Regions from separate parts of the Homo sapiens genome. Here region 2 is linked to region 1. The links are contacts of gene promoters, found by promoter capture Hi-C in human tissues and cell types (Jung and others, 2019). All regions are on one chromosome and are shown on one strand. Each heading gives the region's core, a stretch centred on a gene start or on the middle of the fragment in contact. The rest is flanking DNA. Distances are from core to core; before and after follow the strand shown. Region 1 holds the start of ADRA2A (adrenoceptor alpha 2A). Region 2 has its middle 77 kb from the start of GPAM.

Region 1 (2,781 bases), core at 102-2,601:
TCGAGCGCCAGGTAGATCTCGCACCAAGCCTTGCCGAAGTACCAGTAGCCCATGACCTCGTTGGCCAGCGAGAAAGGGATGACGAGCGTGGCCACCAGGATGTCGGCCGAGGCCAGAGACACCAGGAAGAGGTTTTGGGGCGCCTTGAGCGCGCGGCTCGTGAACACGGCGATGATGACGAGCACGTTGCCGAACACGGTGAGCAGCATGAGCAGGCCGGCCAGGCACACCAGCGTCAGCGTCACCTGCAGGGAGTAAGGGGTGGCCCGGGCGCCGCCCCCCGGCGCCTCGGTCCCGTTCCAGCTCGCGTTGCCCGCGTCCGGCTGCAGGGAGCCCATGGGCGCAAAGCTGCCCTCGGCCAACGGCTGCTCCTGGCGGAACATGAACGCGGGCGCCCGCTGGCCTGGGCCTGCTGCCAGCTGCCTTCCGGCCCGGCGCCCGTGGGTCCTCCTCTTCCTCCGGCGCCCCGCTCGCCTGGCTGCGGCTCACATAGGGAGGGGGCCGCAGGGAGGCCGGGCCCGAACTGGAGGACCGCTAGCGGCCCATGGCCCGGGTCCCGCGAACTGCGCCTGGCTCGCGCTTCAGACGCTCTCGGTGGGCGCCTTCTTGCTCCGAGCTCCTAATACAGCCAAGTTTTATTTCTAAGCGGCGGGAGAGAGTAGGGAGAGCCGATGGGTAAAGAGAGATTTATTCTTCAAGAAGGGAGAACAAAAATCATCGGTGGCCTGATAACTTGGAAGGATGACAGGAAATTAAATATATATATACATATCAATATCTGTATCTTGAATCTTGAGCCTGAGCGAAAGCAAGAGGTCTTACCGTGTGCGGGGCCCGCCCCCACCCCGGGAGGCAGCCGAAGGGTGCTGATGCGAGCTCGGGGGTCCTATGTCTGTCGCCTTACATCCCCGAAGCGATTACCGACTCTCTGGCTTCCCCCAGACGCTGCGGTTCTGGCCCGGCCCGGCCCGGGGCTGGGGCGCGGACTCTGCCGCCTCTCGGAGCGCCGCGAGACTTCCAAAGTTGTGCGCCCTGCTGGGGCTGGGGCACACTGTGCGGAGCTCCGGGACGGCGGCGGCGGCGGGGTGAGGAGTGTGGGGGCCGCATGAAGGCACCCCCGTCCTCAGGCGGGCCGGGGCAGGTGAACGATCAGCTCTCCAGGAGCCGCGACGGAGGCAGGGGTTCTCCTGGGCGTCCGCCTGGTGGGCGCCGAGCGCTGCTGGATGGGCCGGGGTCCGACGACAGCGCGAGTTGGGGCAGGAGCGCAAGGCGGGGAAGAAGGCGCTGGAGTGGCCGGGCGGCGGCACGCCGGCTGCTGGGCTTCTGCACCGAGCTGGAGCTGCTGCTGCTCCGCTGCGCTCACGGTGGACTCGTTTTATAGCCCCAGGATCAAGCAAGCGTTGCTGAGCAGCCGGCGTCAGCCCCCACGTGGGAAGCCGACCCTCCCCCGCCCCTCGCACCACCCCTCCGCCAGTCTAGCGCCCGCGCCTAGCGCTGGACCTCGGGGAGCGTTGCCCTCAGGCGGGACGAGCCCTTTGGAGAGGCGGGTACCTTGAGCTAGAGACTTAAAGAGGGAGCCCGGGGGTGGGGGGTAGGGGAGGAGCGGCCCCTGCTGGGAGTTGGCCATGCAGCTCCGGGCCGACGGAGCAGAACGCAACGGGCACCCGTGAGTGCCCCCAAGAAGCTGGATCTTGGGAGAAAAGGGAAGAAAAAAATGGAAGGGAATCCCCGCCCAAATCGAGGGAAGTAACCTCCGGTGTGAGTTACGTCTGGAGCAGCCCAGCTCCGGGCCAGAGCCGACGCGGTCCGCAGGTGCTCCTGGAGGCTGGGGAGAAAGGGGTCCTGGAGAGGGAGGAAGGCGCGGCTTCGGATGGAACCCCTGGGGCGGAATGGACAGCACCCACGGGGAAGTGGTACAAGCCGGAGTTCAGACCTCCGCTTAGGGAAGAAGCGGCTACGTGTCCTCCCAGCCGCGATGCTGTCTGCGGGAAACGCAAGACCCGGGGTCTGGACCGCGCCCCCTTAGACCGAGGTGGGGAGGGGTCCAGGAGCCGAGCGCCAGGGCAAAGCGAGGACGCACTGACACCTGCTGGCCGCTCGTGGTCACGGCTGAGAAGCGACCCGCTGACGCCAGGCGCCTCCTCCCGTCTCTTAGGTCTTCTGCCAACAGAGCCTTCTCCTATCTCCGAACAAATTGGTTTCTAAGCTCAGGAAAGGAGAACCCAGAGTTTGAATTGCACCCTGCCGTGTTGCAGAAATCTTCCTAAAGCAGATACTCGTGTGTCTACCCCTGGCGGGAGTGGGGGTTTGTCTAATAAAGTCACATCAGGAAGGGCTCAGCAGGCACCGCCGGCCAGAACGGGCATCCCACTCTGGACCCGCACAGCCCACCCTTCCTGCAGATCCGAGAGAGGCCAGGATCCTGCCTCCTTGGTTGCACAGCTCTGGCTTGCTGGGAATCATTATGTTTTTGTTGAGGACCGAAAGCTAGACTCCACTCCCGCCCCGCATCCCACCCCCATTCAGATGTACACACAGCATCCTTCAATAAGGGGAAGAGGGAGTAGAATATTTTCCATGTTCTCTCTGATAAGAATAGCGGTGGGGGCGGGGGGGAGTGGGTGTGCGGCGAATGGCAAGTTTTTCCGTGCGTGCTAGCTGTCCTAGGATAGATTTTAACGGTCACTAGAGCACTAGCTTGCACCCTGCTAGCTGCACTTTTCAGATGAGAGCAAGCAGTTTAATGGTAAAACCCAAGAGGGTAGGAAATTTCAGCAGGAG
Region 2 (2,781 bases), core at 145-2,644, 1.0 Mb before region 1:
TGTGGTATTTGTCATTGGTTCTGTTTATATGCTGGATTACATTTATTGATTTGCGTATATTGAACCAGCCTTGCATCCCAGGGATGAAGCCCACTTGATCATGGTGGATAAGCTTTTTGATGTGTTGCTGGATTTGGTTTGCCAGTATTTTATTGAGGATTTTTGCATCAATGTTCATCAAGGATATTGGTCTAAAATTCTCTTTTTTGGTTGTGTCTCTGCCAGGCTTTGGTATCAGGATGATGCTGGCCTCATAAAATGAGTTGGGGAGGATTTCCTGTTTTTCTATTGATTGGAATAGTTTCAGAAGGAATGGTACCAGCTCCTCCTTGTACCTCTGGTAGAATTCGGCTGTGAATCCATCTGGTCCTGGACTCTTTTTGGTTGGTAAGCTATTGTTTATTGCCACAATTTCAGAGCCTGTTGTTGGTCTATTCAGAGATTCAACTTCTTCCTGGTTTAGTCTTGGGAAGGTGTATGTGTTGGGGAATTTATCCATTTCTTCTAGATTTTCTAGTTTATTTGCGTAGAGGTGTTTGTAGTATTCTCTGATGGTAGTTTGTATTTCTGTGGGATCGGTGGTGATATCCCCTTTATCATTTTTTATTGCGTCTATTTGATTCTTCTCTCTTTTTTTCTTTATTAGTCTTGCTAGCGGTCTATCAATTTTGTTGATCCTTTCAAAAAACCAGCTCCTGGATTCATTAATTTTTTGAAGGGTTTTTTGTGTCTCTATTTCCTTCAGTTCTGCTCTGATTTTAGTTATTTCTTGCCTTCTGCTAGCTTTTGAATGTGTTTGCTCTTCCTTTTCTAGTTCTTTTAATTGTGATGTTAGGGTGTCAATTTTGGATCTTTCCTGCTTTCTCTTGTGGGCATTTAGTGCTATAAATTTCCCTCTACACACTGCTTTGAATGTGTCCCAGAGATTCTGGTATGTTGTGTCTTTGTTCTCATTGGTTTCAAAGAACATCTTTATTTCTGCCTTCATTTCGTTATGTACCCAGTAGTCATTCAGGAGCAGGTTGTTCAGTTTCCATGTAGTTGAGCGATTTTGAGTGAGATTCTTAATCCTGAGTTCTAGTTTGATTGCACTGTGGTCTGAGAGACAGTTTGTTATAATCTCTGTTCTTTTACATTTGCTGAGGAGAGCTTTACTTCCAAGTATGTGGTCAATTTTGGAATAGGTGTGGTGTGGTGCTGAAAAAAATGTATGTTCTGTTGATTTGGGGTGGAGAGTTCTGTAGATGTCTATTAGGTCCGCTTGGTGCAGAGCTGAGTTCAATTCCTGGGTATCCTTGTTGACTTTCTGTCTCGTTGATCTGTCTAATGTTGACAGTGGGGTGTTAAAGTCTCCCATTATTAATGTGTGGGAGTCTAAGTCTCTTTGTAGGTCACTCAGGACTTGCTTTATGAATCTGAGTGCTCCTGTATTGGGTGCATATATATTTAGGATAGTTAGCTCTTCTTGTTGAATTGATCCCTTTACCATTATGCAATGGCCTTCTTTGTCTCTTTTGATCTTTGTTGGTTTAAAGTCTGTTTTATCAGAGACTAGGATTGCAACCCCTGCCTTTTTTTGTTTTCCATTTGCTTGGTAGATCTTCCTCCATCCTTTTATTTTGAGCCTATATGTGTGTCTGCACGTGAGACGGGTTTCCTGAATACAGCACACTGATGGGTCTTGACGCTATCCAATTTGCCAGTCTGTGTCTTTTAACTGGAGCATTTAGTCCATTACATTTAAAGTTAATATGTTATATGTGAATTTGATCCTGTCATTATGATGTTAGCTGGTTATTTTGCTTGTTAGTTGATGCAGTTTCTTCCTAGTCTCGATGGTCTTTACATTTTGGCATGATGTTGCAGCGGCTGGTACCGGTTGTTCCTTTCCGTGTTTAGCGCTTCCTTCAGGAGCTCTTTTAGGGCAGGCCTGGTGGTGACAAAATCTCTCAGCATTTGCTTGTCTGTAAAGTATTTTATTTCTCCTTCACTTATGAAGCTTAGTTTGGCTGGATATGAAATTCTGGGTTGAAAATGCTTTTCTTTAAGAATGTTTAATATTGGCCCCCAGTCTCTTCCGGCTTGTAGAGTTTCTGCCGAGAGATCTGCTGTTAGTCTGATGGGCTACCCTTTGAGGGTAACCCGACCTTTCTCTCTGGCTGCCCTTAACATTTTTTCCTTCATTTCAACTTTGGTGAATCTGACAATTATGTGTCTTGGAGTTGCTCTTCTCGAGGAGTATCTTTGTGGCGTTCTCTGTATTTCCTGAATCTGAATGTTGGCCTGCCTTGCTAGATTGGGGAAGTTCTCCTGGATAGTATCCTGCAGAGTGTTTTCCAACTTGGTTCCATTCTCCCCGTCACTTTCAGGTACACCAATCAGACGTAGATTTGGTCTTTTCACTTAGTCCTATATTTCTTGGAGGCTTCGTTCGTTTCTTTTTATTCTTTTTTCTCTAAACTTCCCTTCTCGCTTCATTTCATTCATTTCGTCTTCCATCGCTGATACCCTTTCTTCCAGTTGATCGCATCGGCTCCTGAGGCTTCTGCATTTTTCACGACGTTCTCGAGCCTTGGTTTTCAGCTCCATCAGCTCCTTTAGGCACTTCTCTGTATTGGTTATTCTAGTTATACATTCTTCTAAATTTTTTTCAAAGTTTTCAACTTCTTTGCCTTTGGTTTGAATGTCCTCCCGTAGCTCGGAGTAATTTGATCGTCTGAAGCCTTCTTCTCTCAGCTCGTCAAAGTCATTCTCCGTCCAGCTTTGTTCCGTTGCTGGTGA

The links. The method cuts DNA at HindIII sites, captures the fragments that hold promoters and counts their contacts. A contact is called where the count stands out against the background at its distance.
Region 2: a contact is called between a fragment that was not itself captured here and the fragment with the promoter of ADRA2A in region 1, in 1 of the 25 tissues and cell types used here (spleen).

What each region holds. Positions count from the first base shown.
Region 1 is chr10:111,075,599-111,078,379 of GRCh38, reverse strand. ADRA2A (adrenoceptor alpha 2A) reads right to left here and starts at 1,351. Exons shown (of 1, transcript NM_000681.4): 1 at 1-1,351. The coding sequence starts at 383. RefSeq lists a silencer at 1,339-1,388. The HindIII fragment of the contact is 8,357 bases long and covers 1-2,781 here.
Region 2 is chr10:112,104,910-112,107,690 of GRCh38, reverse strand. No RefSeq gene overlaps it. Among named protein-coding and RNA genes, the nearest start is that of GPAM, 77 kb to the left of the region's middle. The HindIII fragment of the contact is 4,977 bases long and covers 1-2,781 here.